3 separate regions of the Homo sapiens genome follow, and all the other regions are linked to region 1. Evidence: promoter capture Hi-C in human tissues and cell types (Jung and others, 2019). All regions are on one chromosome and are shown on one strand. The core of a region is centred on a gene start or on the middle of the fragment in contact, and the rest is flanking DNA. Distances in the headings are between cores, read along the strand shown. Region 1 holds the start of YWHAZ (tyrosine 3-monooxygenase/tryptophan 5-monooxygenase activation protein zeta). Region 2 holds the start of LOC105375669 (a long non-coding RNA gene). Region 3 overlaps GRHL2 (grainyhead like transcription factor 2).

The links. Contacts are between HindIII fragments. The study calls those that stand out against the background at their distance.
Region 2: a fragment that was not itself captured here is called in contact with the fragment with the promoter of YWHAZ in region 1 in 1 of the 25 tissues and cell types used here (lymphoblastoid cells).
Region 3: a fragment that was not itself captured here is called in contact with the fragment with the promoter of YWHAZ in region 1 in 1 of the 25 tissues and cell types used here (mesendoderm cells).

Annotation. Positions count from the first base shown.
Region 1 is chr8:100,950,448-100,954,027 of GRCh38, reverse strand. YWHAZ (tyrosine 3-monooxygenase/tryptophan 5-monooxygenase activation protein zeta) reads left to right here and starts at 2,008. Exons shown (of 6, transcript NM_145690.3): 1 at 2,008-2,099. RefSeq lists enhancers at 524-653, 664-773, 1,053-1,911, 3,064-3,143, 2,770-3,580 and silencers at 914-1,593, 1,614-1,873, 2,104-2,873, 3,264-3,483. The HindIII fragment of the contact is 8,101 bases long and covers 1-3,401 here.
Region 2 is chr8:100,217,593-100,221,172 of GRCh38, reverse strand. SPAG1 (sperm associated antigen 1) reads right to left here. Exons shown (of 19, transcript NM_003114.5): 13 at 742-894. It overlaps LOC105375669 (a long non-coding RNA gene), which reads left to right and starts at 890. Exons shown (of 3, transcript XR_928450.3): 1 at 890-2,074. The HindIII fragment of the contact is 4,864 bases long and covers 1-3,580 here.
Region 3 is chr8:101,503,719-101,507,298 of GRCh38, reverse strand. All of the region lies in intron 1 of GRHL2 (grainyhead like transcription factor 2), which reads right to left. Among named protein-coding and RNA genes, the nearest start is that of GRHL2-DT, 13 kb to the right of the region's middle. The HindIII fragment of the contact is 8,369 bases long and covers 1-3,580 here.

The sequences.
Region 1 (3,580 bases), core at 759-3,258:
TGAGTCACGCCCTAAAAGAATTTACTTGGGAGTCAAAGCTAGTTGACCCTAACATCTCAGAAATAAAACTCCAATTTGTTTATCCATTTAACCTACCATGAGTCTGTGATTTGGCAACTTGTGAAAAGCAACAACAAAAAAACCCACTAAAATATAACTGGTCACTGGAAACCCTCTTTCTGGTCTGTACTATCTAAATGCCAGCTGTCATGTCAGGCAAAAAGTAATTTGTAGAGCAGCCTTGTGGTCCACTGTATTATGTAGGAAAGACAATGTACTGGAAGAGCGAGGACTCAATCATTTCGTGTCTACTACTGAGAAACTAAATTCTGTAGAGAACATGAGGCTAAACGGAGGCTCTGGTCAGCTCAATAAAGATACGTTGGAAGAATCAATGGGGAGTTTACACAAGAGTAAAATGAAGAGTTCCAAGCTCTCTCATTGCTAACCGTACACTCTCCATGGCTGTTGCAAGTGGTTTTGCAGGTCATCCAAGCACTAATCTTTTCTTAGCCCGAACACATTTAAAGAGGGAAGGGGCAGAGATCATTCACACTGTGAATGTTTCTCTCTGAACTTCCTGAAGTCAACTGGGCGGAGGCCCTACCGGTTCAGGCACCTGCAATTTCCGCCTTTCTCCTTCCCCTTCTTCCGGGCTCCCGTCCCGGCTCATCACCCGGCCTGTGGCCCACTCCCACCGCCAGCTGGAACCCTGGGGACTACGACGTCCCTCAAACCTTGCTTCTAGGAGATAAAAAGGTAATGATCGTCATGTGCAGTATGAGGTCTTCACGTGAAAGCTTTATTTGGGTAGGAAAACCTAGCCTACGAGAAACGGGTCCGTGCGGTCACGCCTGACTGCCTGTCTCCGGGTCAAGGCTGCCAGGACCAGCTCCAGCCCTCCGCCCGAGAAGGCTGTCCTTTCCCCTCGGAACTCTGGCTTCCCTAAAGCGGCCGCGCCTCCTTCCAGGCCTCACCTCCTGCCGGCTCCGCCCGGCCCGGCCCACCTCGCCCCCACCTCGGCGCCCACCCATTGTCCCCTCGCGCAGTCACCGAGCGCAGATCCCGCGCTCTCGATTGGAACGCCTCCCCATCACTCAGCCACACTCAGGGGCTGGACGCCTCACTCCCGTTTCCGAGCCATAAAAGGTCTAGGACCGCTTCCCCCGAGCCAGCAGGTAAAGCCGCGGCGGCGGGAGGGAGGCCGGGAGGGGCCGCGCGCCCCGGTCGGCCCAGCCGGGGAAGGGGAGCGGCGGGCGGGGCGGGGGGCAGCGCACCACACACAACCCTCCCTTGCCGTGCGACCGCGCCCTGCCCCCGCCCCGGGGCCCCCGCCCCGCAAGTCCTGATCACAATGCCGGAGCCGCCGAGCCACCCTTGTCATCCTGCCCGGGGACGGCCCTGGGGCAGTTACTACCGCGAAGCACGGAGGGTGGGGCGGGCCGGGCCTCGGGGAGGGGTGGGGGGATGTGAAAGGTCCCGGATGTTGCTGAACGGGAGCCCCTTCCAGAGGGAGTGACTGGGGCAAGCGCAGACGGGCTGAGCGAAAGCTAAGGTGGGGGTAGGGAGAGAACGCCTTCCCGCCGGCTGAGAGGAAGAGTGGGCCGGCAGAGGCTGCAGGGGAGAGGGAGAGAGAGGGCGTTGGGGACCCAAAGGGAAGGCGAGGAGTGGGGGATTTGCGTTGGGGAGGAAAAGGAAAAAAGCAGCCTCCTGCCCTAGGTGCACTCGGGACAAGCGTAGAGGAGCTGGAAGCCGAGCGGGGTGGGAGGAGTGGCGGCTGCGGGCGAGGACGCGCGCGCCTCCGCTCGCCCTCCAGCGCGGGCGGGCAGGACGAGCGCCGGGGAGCGGCGGTTACGCGGGGCCCCGATCGCTGTGGGCACCAATCAACGGTTGCCATAGCAGCGTTTGACGTCATCGTGCGTGTGGTGCCCCTGCTGCCGGGGCTGGTGATTGGAGGAAACCCCGTGTCTGCGGAGCGGCTGTAGCCTGTGAGCAGCGAGATCCAGGGACAGAGTCTCAGCCTCGCCGCTGCTGCCGCCGCCGCCGCCCAGAGACTGCTGAGCCCGTCCGTCCGCCGCCACCACCCACTCCGGACACAGGTGAGGAACCCGGCCGCCGCCGCGCCTCGCTTCCTGTCCCAGGCCAGCCTTCCGAACGCGTGGGAGCCGTCCTCGCTCCGTCCCCTCATCCCCACTCGCCCCGCGGTGGCGGCGCCGGGCTGAGGCGGAGTCTCCTCAGCGGACACGGGCGGCGGCTCCTCTTCCGCTGGGCTCGGGAGGGCGGCTAGCGGCCGCCTCCGGCTCCTTGCTTCCGCATCGACGCCCCGGCGCCGATCGGTGCTCGCTCCCCCGTCCTGCCCCCGGGGGTGGGTAGGGCGCCCACACGCGAGATCCCTGGGGATCTCCCTGTCGCCGGCTCCCGAAGGTGGACGAGGCATGGCCGGGGCGCCGCCGGCCGCGATCCATCCCCACCCTTGTCTCTGCGGGCTTCCACCCCCTCCCTCGCCGCCCTTCTCGCTTCCGCCCGAGATAATGACTCGGCGGCGGCGGCGGCGGGCATCGCAGTGGCGCAGGTGAGGCCGCCCCCTCCCCTCTCCCTCGGCCGCCCCCTCCTTTCCCTCCCCCTCGCGCAGCCTCCGCGCTGGGCGCTGCGGCGGCGGGACCCGGCCCTCCCCCACCCCGGGAGGCGGTGGCGCGGCGGGGAGGGGCCGGGGGCCTCGGGGACCCAAGCGCGAGGGAAAGGCCTGGCCGAGAGCGGGCCGGAGCCCAGGCCTGGCGCGGCGGCGCCCGCCAGGTAGACCGGGGCGAGGCTGCGCGCCGGCGGGAGGGGAGTCCACTGCGGGGTGAGGTTTTGGGGTGGGGCTCGCCTGGGACCTAGAGCTGAATTTCCTGGGCTCCGCGGTGGGAGGAAGGACTTGAATTTTCCTGGTGGGGGTGGGGGATGGGTCTGACTTTTTTTGCTCCTTGTGAACGGGCGGGGGAGGTGTGGACGGGGGCTGCAAGTCCAGGTCGGGGTAGAGAACAGGGTGGTGAGCCCGCAGTCGGCTCCCGTGCTTGATGGACTAGAACTGGAGGGTCCCTGCGCTCGGTTTGGGGACGCATATCCTGCTTTGGGGGCGGGTGAGCCTGAGCATAGCCGCTGGTGGCCCGCTCGGCTGGGTGTGGCTCTCGTCCCCTCCCCCACCTGCAGCTGTCGGTCCCTTAGAGACGCTGTACACGGTCACCGGCGCTGATCGGTGGCGGGGAAGGCGCTGGGTGGGAGAGCGGGGTGTGTCCGCGGCGGGGCTGGTAGTGGTTCCGCTTCTGCGGGCTGCTGTGGCGTCTCTGCCCCGGGGTCGGGCGGCTTCGCTCCCCATCTCTCCCCCCCCCCCACGGCTTGGGCGGGGGCGCGGGCTGCTCCTCCCTCTGGCTCCGGTCGGGGGGAGGAATTAACACTCTGCAGTAGGTTGGGCTCCCTGACACAGATCCGCCATGACAAAGGAGGAGAGTCGGGGACTTGAGCCGTGGCTCCGACTTGGGCGGAGCCTGGAGGGGGGTGGTTGCGATACGCGGACCGGAGAATTTGCACTTTAAAGTCCGGG
Region 2 (3,580 bases), core at 385-2,884, 730 kb after region 1:
GTGGGAGGAGAGGATTCAACATAGCAGTTTTCACCACATTTTTGGATCTTATTCTATAGCTAGTACTGATTTATTTATTTTATTTTAATTTTTTTTTTTGGAGTTGGAATCTTGCTCCGTTGTCCAGGCTGGAGTGCAGTGGTATGATCTCAGCTCACCGCAATCTCCGCAGCCTGGGTTCAAACAATTCTCCTGCCTCAGCCTCCTGAGTAGCTGGGATTACAGGCGCCCGCCACCACACCTGGCTAATTTTTGTATTTTTAGTTGAGATGGGGTTTCGCCATGTTGGCCAGGCTGGTCTCGAACTCCTGACCTCAAGTGATCCACCCGCCTTGGCCTCCCAAAGTGCTAGGATTACAGGCATCAGCCACCGCACCCAGCTACTAGTACTGATTTTATGATATCTATGTAAATACCCTCTTATCACCACATATATTTAAGCAGCACATATGAGTTATATCCTGTGTTACTAAGACCAAAAAAAAATACTGATTGAACAGTAATAAATGGATCAGAAAACAAATACAAAGGCATTAGAGGACAAGTCAGAATTAATTAAGGGAGAGTCAGAAATTAAGTTAAGGGAGAGAACCATTTGATGTAATGGAATAAAAGAAGGCAATCATTCAGGTGATAAAAGTAACTGATAACACATCTATATTTTGACATGTTCTTGAAGGAGGGGAAGGGAAAAACAGTATAAAACAACTAGATTTTAGGTAGCTGCCTCAGATTAATTACCTGTTAACACTGTCATTTGCTAGCTGGAGTCCACAGTCTATCTGCAACACTGTTTTATAATCCACATAAGCTTTCCCATACTGCTCTAGAGTTTCATAGGCCATCGCCCGCCTCAGAAGAGGTTTCATAGAGAATGGATGAAGTTCCAGAGCCCTAAAGAAGACAAAAATATTACATACCATTTGTTTTGAAAAATGCTCTTTCGTTTATACTTCACTGAATAGATACTGCAGTACTGAACTCTCAAATATGTACACATCCGAGACTTCGTCTTGGGAACCAGGCAACATGCCAGAAAGGCAAACCCAGAGTAAGAAAGCAATCATATTTGTGTTCCTTTCTTTTAAACCAGTAGCAAAGCACTCTGCATTTACTCTTTCCCACTGAGCCGGGAGCTCCCTGGCAGCATGTCCTGGCCTCCCCAGTCCCCTAACAGAGCAGCATGGCACAAGGCACACAGCAGGGTTTCAACAGATTGTCGTTGACAGATTAAAATGAAAATTCTTATTTGCACCTATGTATTTAATAATAAAGTACAGAACCATAAAAGTTGCATCACATTTTGAAAATCGGCACTCTAAAACTTATTAGTTCATTATGATTCACTTGCTGCAAAAGGGCTTCAAAAACAGACCAAAGGGGAATCAAGGAACTAAACCTACAATGATTTCTTCTAAGTTATGAATTTTCATCTTGCACGTTTTAGTCTATGAAGTGTTTCCAATATCACTAAAGATGTATCTCATGGTTGTGTTTTTTGGTTTTGTTTGAAGTGTTTAAAGCTACTTCAGCATTTAACGTACTTCATTATATTCTGAAGTAAAACAATAAAAAAACTGTACATATAATCCTCGATTTACAATATGGTTATGTCCCAATAATCCCATGGTAAACTGAAAATATGTTAAGTCAAAAGGCAGCGCAGAGCCTTTGGTTAAGGAATCACAAATCTGTATTTATGAATGAAAACTATAGTACTCTTGGTTTTAACAAAATCAACAGAAGCTGCAAAGAAGTCCTCCATGCAGAGATCCTATGAAGAGCCTCCTTTCTATATAACCTAACTAACATCTGCACCAGACTGTCCACATTGAAGATGGTGGATTTATTCTTTCAACTCATGCTATAAACAGTTAATATAACAAGTATTTAACTTTCCAGGAAAGCATGAGCAAGGGCTGCTTTCTTTAACTTGCTGTTTTTCCGATACTCTTAGAAATCTGCTGTCTATTCCTGTCTACAATGATTCAGCAATGAGGAAACATTGACAGAGTATCTGCTATGTGCTAGTCACTGTAGACTTCCCCATCTAATCTCACAACAAACCTGTCAGGTAAATATTAATATGTTCATTATGTGGGTGAAGAAACAGAAACATGAGGAGTGACATGCCCACAGGTCAGTTCTTTCTAATGTGAGCTTCAGGAAGGCAATTGGCATTGCCTGTCCTGAGCACCACTATATTCCCAGTCCTAGATCACCTGGGTCATGAGAGGCACTCAGCAAACTTCTCTGTGAGCCCTCAAAAGCCTACACTCTGCCTACCGCAGTACACATACAAACACTGCAAATGAAGGAACTCTTGAGTCATTTGCCACTCAGACCACATCATACAGATACTCAGCTGCACTTGTGGGAGCCCTTCTGGCATATCATAGAAGTTACTCTAGAAATGCTGTTAAACCTAATCTGCTTCACTTCTCTGAAAAAATAACCAATTTCACTCTGCCTAGGTGTTAGGATTGTGAGTGATTTTAATGATAGTCTTTGTGCTGTGCTAGTTTTTTCTTAAGTTTTCTATAATAGGTAAGTGGTTTTTTAAAACAGTAAATGTTATTTAAAATATAAAATTAAAATCAAGTAAACATATTTCAACACTAGAAAATAGATCTGTGGGCATCAGGATCTGTCACCTGTACCACTGCCTTAAATTTAGCTTAGTTTAATGTTTAGGTAATATTAACTCTATGAGCAGAGTCACAACCATGTGACTACCTTCACTTCACAGAAGACTTCCAATGACCAAGGTGCCATTTATCTATTCAAGATGGCCTTAAGCCAAGCTTGGGATCTAAAACTGATGAGATGCTGTATTAATTTTTAGCACTTTCTGCCCAGTAAATTTATTTCTTTAACTACAATCCTGAAAATGAATATGAACTTATGAATGGAAATTCCATTAAGGAAAAAAACCACCCATGTATAAAAATAAGCACAGAGAACTTTTGAAGCAGAGCTTACAAAAGAGGCTATCTATTCAAGGTAACACAGTTAAGACCCTAAAAAATCTTCCAATTTCAAGACTGTGAGAGTAGCAAAGATAAGAAAAAGCAGAGAACTGGCCAGGCACGGTGGCTCAAGCCTGTATGTAATCCCAGAACTTTGGGAGGCCAAGGTTGGCAGACCACTTGAGGCCAGGAGTTCAAGACTAGCCTGGCCAACATGGCAAAACCCTGTTTCTACTAAAAAAAAAATACAAAAATTAGCTGGGTTAGGTGGTGCACACCTGTAATCCCAGCTACTTGGGAGGCTGAGGTACAAGAATCGCTTGAACCCAGGAGGCAGAGGCTGCAGTGAGCAGAGATCATGCCATTGCACTCCAACCTGGGTGATAGAGTGAGACTCTGTCTCAAAAAAAAAGAAAAGAAAAGAAAAACGAAAAAGGAGAGAATTACTAGGCAACATTCATTTGTATTTAGTCTGTTGAAATGTCCTCAATGGAAAGTCACCAAAAGATTTTTGGTGTGGTTTAGATAAACCAAAAAGGTTCTGATAGATGAGAAAAGTGAAGTATTTTAGCTTATAAACAATTATGAGTATTTTAAAAGTTGTAAAATGA
Region 3 (3,580 bases), core at 653-3,152, 550 kb before region 1:
ATACATAAGACCAAAATATTTGACATTTAAAAATTTAAACCTCTGAACATTTTTAAATCTTGAAATTAAAGTAACAAGTTGAAATGATAGCCAGGATTTTAACAAAAGGGTTAATAGTTTTAGGTGCAAAAAGAGCTCTCACAAGTCAATGATAAAAATATGAGTATCTCAATTTATTTTTGAATAAATGAAAAATAAGAACAGGCCTCTGTTAGCCCATAGGGTGCAACTGTACAAATGTTGGAAGGTACAACTTTGGGTAGACGCCAGAGGGGAGCACAGCTGGATCTCAGCCCCAAAGTCCCCCTCAGCCAAGTTCCCTCTCCTCCAGAACATAACACAATCATAGGTAGTAGCCAGGGTAAAAGCAAGAGCTTCACTAAAAAGAAATACAAATTACAAAATAAAAATCTGAGAAAATGTTTAATCTCTTTAACTATCAAATTGCAATTTTTTTTTTTTTGCCTTGCAAATAAACAAATTACAATTGTCATTTACTGGTGAGACAATGAGAAAAAGACACCCTCAAACACTGTTGGTAGAACACAAATTGTTAAAATCTTTCTAGGAGTCATTTTCAAATTATGTATCAATGACCTAAAAATATTTATGTCTCCTGTTCTTATACTTCCAGAAATCTATTCTACAGTAATAACCGGAGATAAAAACCTTTACATATAAACATGATTTATTATACTGAAAAGTCAAAACAACATAAATATTAAAAATAGGAGGTGGTAGATTTCACCTTTAAATGCTATGTACGAGAATACTTAAGGGATTGGTAAAGTACCAATAGTATAGTATTAAGTGGAAAATGCAGAATGGCATGAATGATGTAAAAAAGAGAATCATAATTTGCACACTCTTTGTAAAACCACATTGATATACTATGCATGCACATATTAGAAACTGTAAGAAAAGACAAAGTATTAACAGGGTGCTGGAATTATGAGTGATTTTTCTTCTAGATACTTGTTTCTATTTTCCAATTTTTCCCCATAAGCATATATTATTTTCATAACCAGAAAAAGAAACCTCCCAGGAAATGCTTCTTTAAAAAGTAAACACATACAATGCAAAACTGTATCATAAAACAGTTGCAATAAAAGTCAGCCTGGGCAATAGCATTGAAAGCTAGGAGGCAGGTCATTCACAAATGCTTCACAACAGCAATTTATAAAATAATTCATTAAATATGCAGTACAATAAAAATCTCTGTATCATAAAAACATTTTCAACTTCTTCCACACTCTAGAACTATTTGCTACAATGACAACATCAAAATCTAGTTAGCCCTGAAAGCTCTAAATAGCATGTTTAATTTTGTTCTTCTTTCCAAGCACACTTGGATACGCTGCAGCGGAAAAACTTGGAGCTTGTAATTCAACGTGTCCTGGGATTCGACCACATGGGTATTTTATTGCTTAGGAAGGATTATGAAGGCTAACAAGCATAACGATACTACTGCTGCACCAGTTCAACTTCAGGATGTTAAAAGTGATAAACGACTTGTGTCCCAAATTTTGTGAACAAAATCGAAATGCAAATTTGTGTTTTTCATGTGGCTGAATATGATACAAAACATACCTTATAGAATGTTTGCTAAAACTAAAGATAAACACAAGATAAAAGGAGACTGTAGTCCTTCCCTCAACCCTCCCACAAGCCCCGTAAGGATAGGTGCCTTTATTTACACTGTTTTTTTTTTTTTTTTTTTTGAGACAGAGTTTCACCCTTGTTGCCCAGGCTGGAGTACAGTGGTGCAATCTCGGCTCACTGCAACCTCCGCGTCCCAGGTTCAAGAGATTCTCCTGACTCAGCCTCCCGAGTAGCTGGGATTACAGGCATGGACCACCACATCCGGCTAATTTTGTATTTTTAATAGAGATGGGGTTTCTTCATGTTGGTCAGGCTGGTCTCAAACTCCCGACCTAAGGTGATCCACCCGCCTCGGCCTCCCTAAGTGCTGGGATTATAGGCATGAGCCACCACGCCCGGCCCATTTAGACTTTTAACATCCGAAGAACATCATGATTTTTTAAAAATATTAGATATAGTATTTGAGGTTTGAAGAATTTCTATACAATATGAAGAAAAGGATGGGGGAGGGGAGGGCCAGTTGGGAGTGGGAGAGAAGGGGCAATTGCAAATTCACTTTTGAGCACACGGCCAAAATGTATACCTACTAGTTCCTGTTTCACCACCTCTGTGTTTATTCCGCAGCCGAAGATTGCTTTGGTTTTGCTCACATTTTACAAAAGTTCATTTCCACCTTTTTTTTGTTGTTGTATTTTTAGCCTCCTCTTTTTTTTTTTTTTTTCCTAATGCAATGTTGGCAACTTCAGTGACTCTGGGAGGCCAGTTTCCCCAGCAAGTTCCCATCAGGTACTTTTTGTTCCCTGCTGTGGATGCTTCTTGGATAGGTTGATAAGCAAAGAAGTTCACGTTGGCGACAACACTTCCATTAAAGACGCGTGCAGTAAATCCTATGATGCAATCTCCTGCAGCTTAACTAGCAGACCCAAGCTGGTCTGGCATGATCTATGCACCAGCTTGCAGAAGCAGTCAGATGAGTCACTGTGTGGCCCTCCAGGGAGAAGCAAGTCTATACTCTAAAAAAAATATAAATTTTTATTCTAGAAAATACAAAAAAAAAACCCGACCTTGCCTACAACTACCTTTTGTTTTTAAAGGAAGTCATATTCCAGGCTCTCCCTGTCCCTTCAAAAAAGCTCAAAACTGGACCCAACACCAAGTCTCTCCCATGAACATTCAGGCGGGGTCTGAGGTGGTGAGGCCAGCAGGTTTGCCTCGAGAGAGTTTGCTTCAAGTGAAACTCCATAGGCACATGCAGCCCACTGAGTGGAACAAACTGAGTTTCTTTCATTCTTAGTCATTCCTCAGCTTCAAATTATACACATGTTGGAAACTTATACACCTACTTTTGCTATTTTGAAAAATCACTGGATTTAATGATTGGACTTAACACATATGCAAATCTAAAAGGACAAGGTTGTGGAGACACAGATAATGAATCTACAGGTCACTAAGGAATAGCACAGAACCGACAGGCAGCATGCCAGCGTGAAGGGCAGCGTGGCATTCCTGGGACAGAGAGGAGAGGGCAGGGATTTCTGCAGGGGATCGGGTCAATTCTACCTGCAACAAGCAAGCAGCAAGTAGGCTTTTCCGTTTTATTTAGAGAAGTGTGTATTATTCTTAAGTGTCTCCACTTAATAACTATTTTTATATACAACCTTTAATTTTTTTAAATACATACATACATAAATACATAAATGCATAAATAAAATTTATCCTTAATTACAAAAGCAGTGCAAGCTCACATCAGCACAATAGGAAAACACAGAGAAACACTAACAGACAAAAAAGTACCTTTATTTTATACTTAAGAGAGAAAACCACTGTTAACTTTTTGTGTTTTTTCTGAATTCTTTATTCTTCATCTTTTTATGCCTATAAACATTCTGATATAATACATCATGAACACTTTCTCTTATCATTAAGGATTTTTTCATTAATGTGATGTGTAATGCTTGCATAGTGTCCCATCATCTCA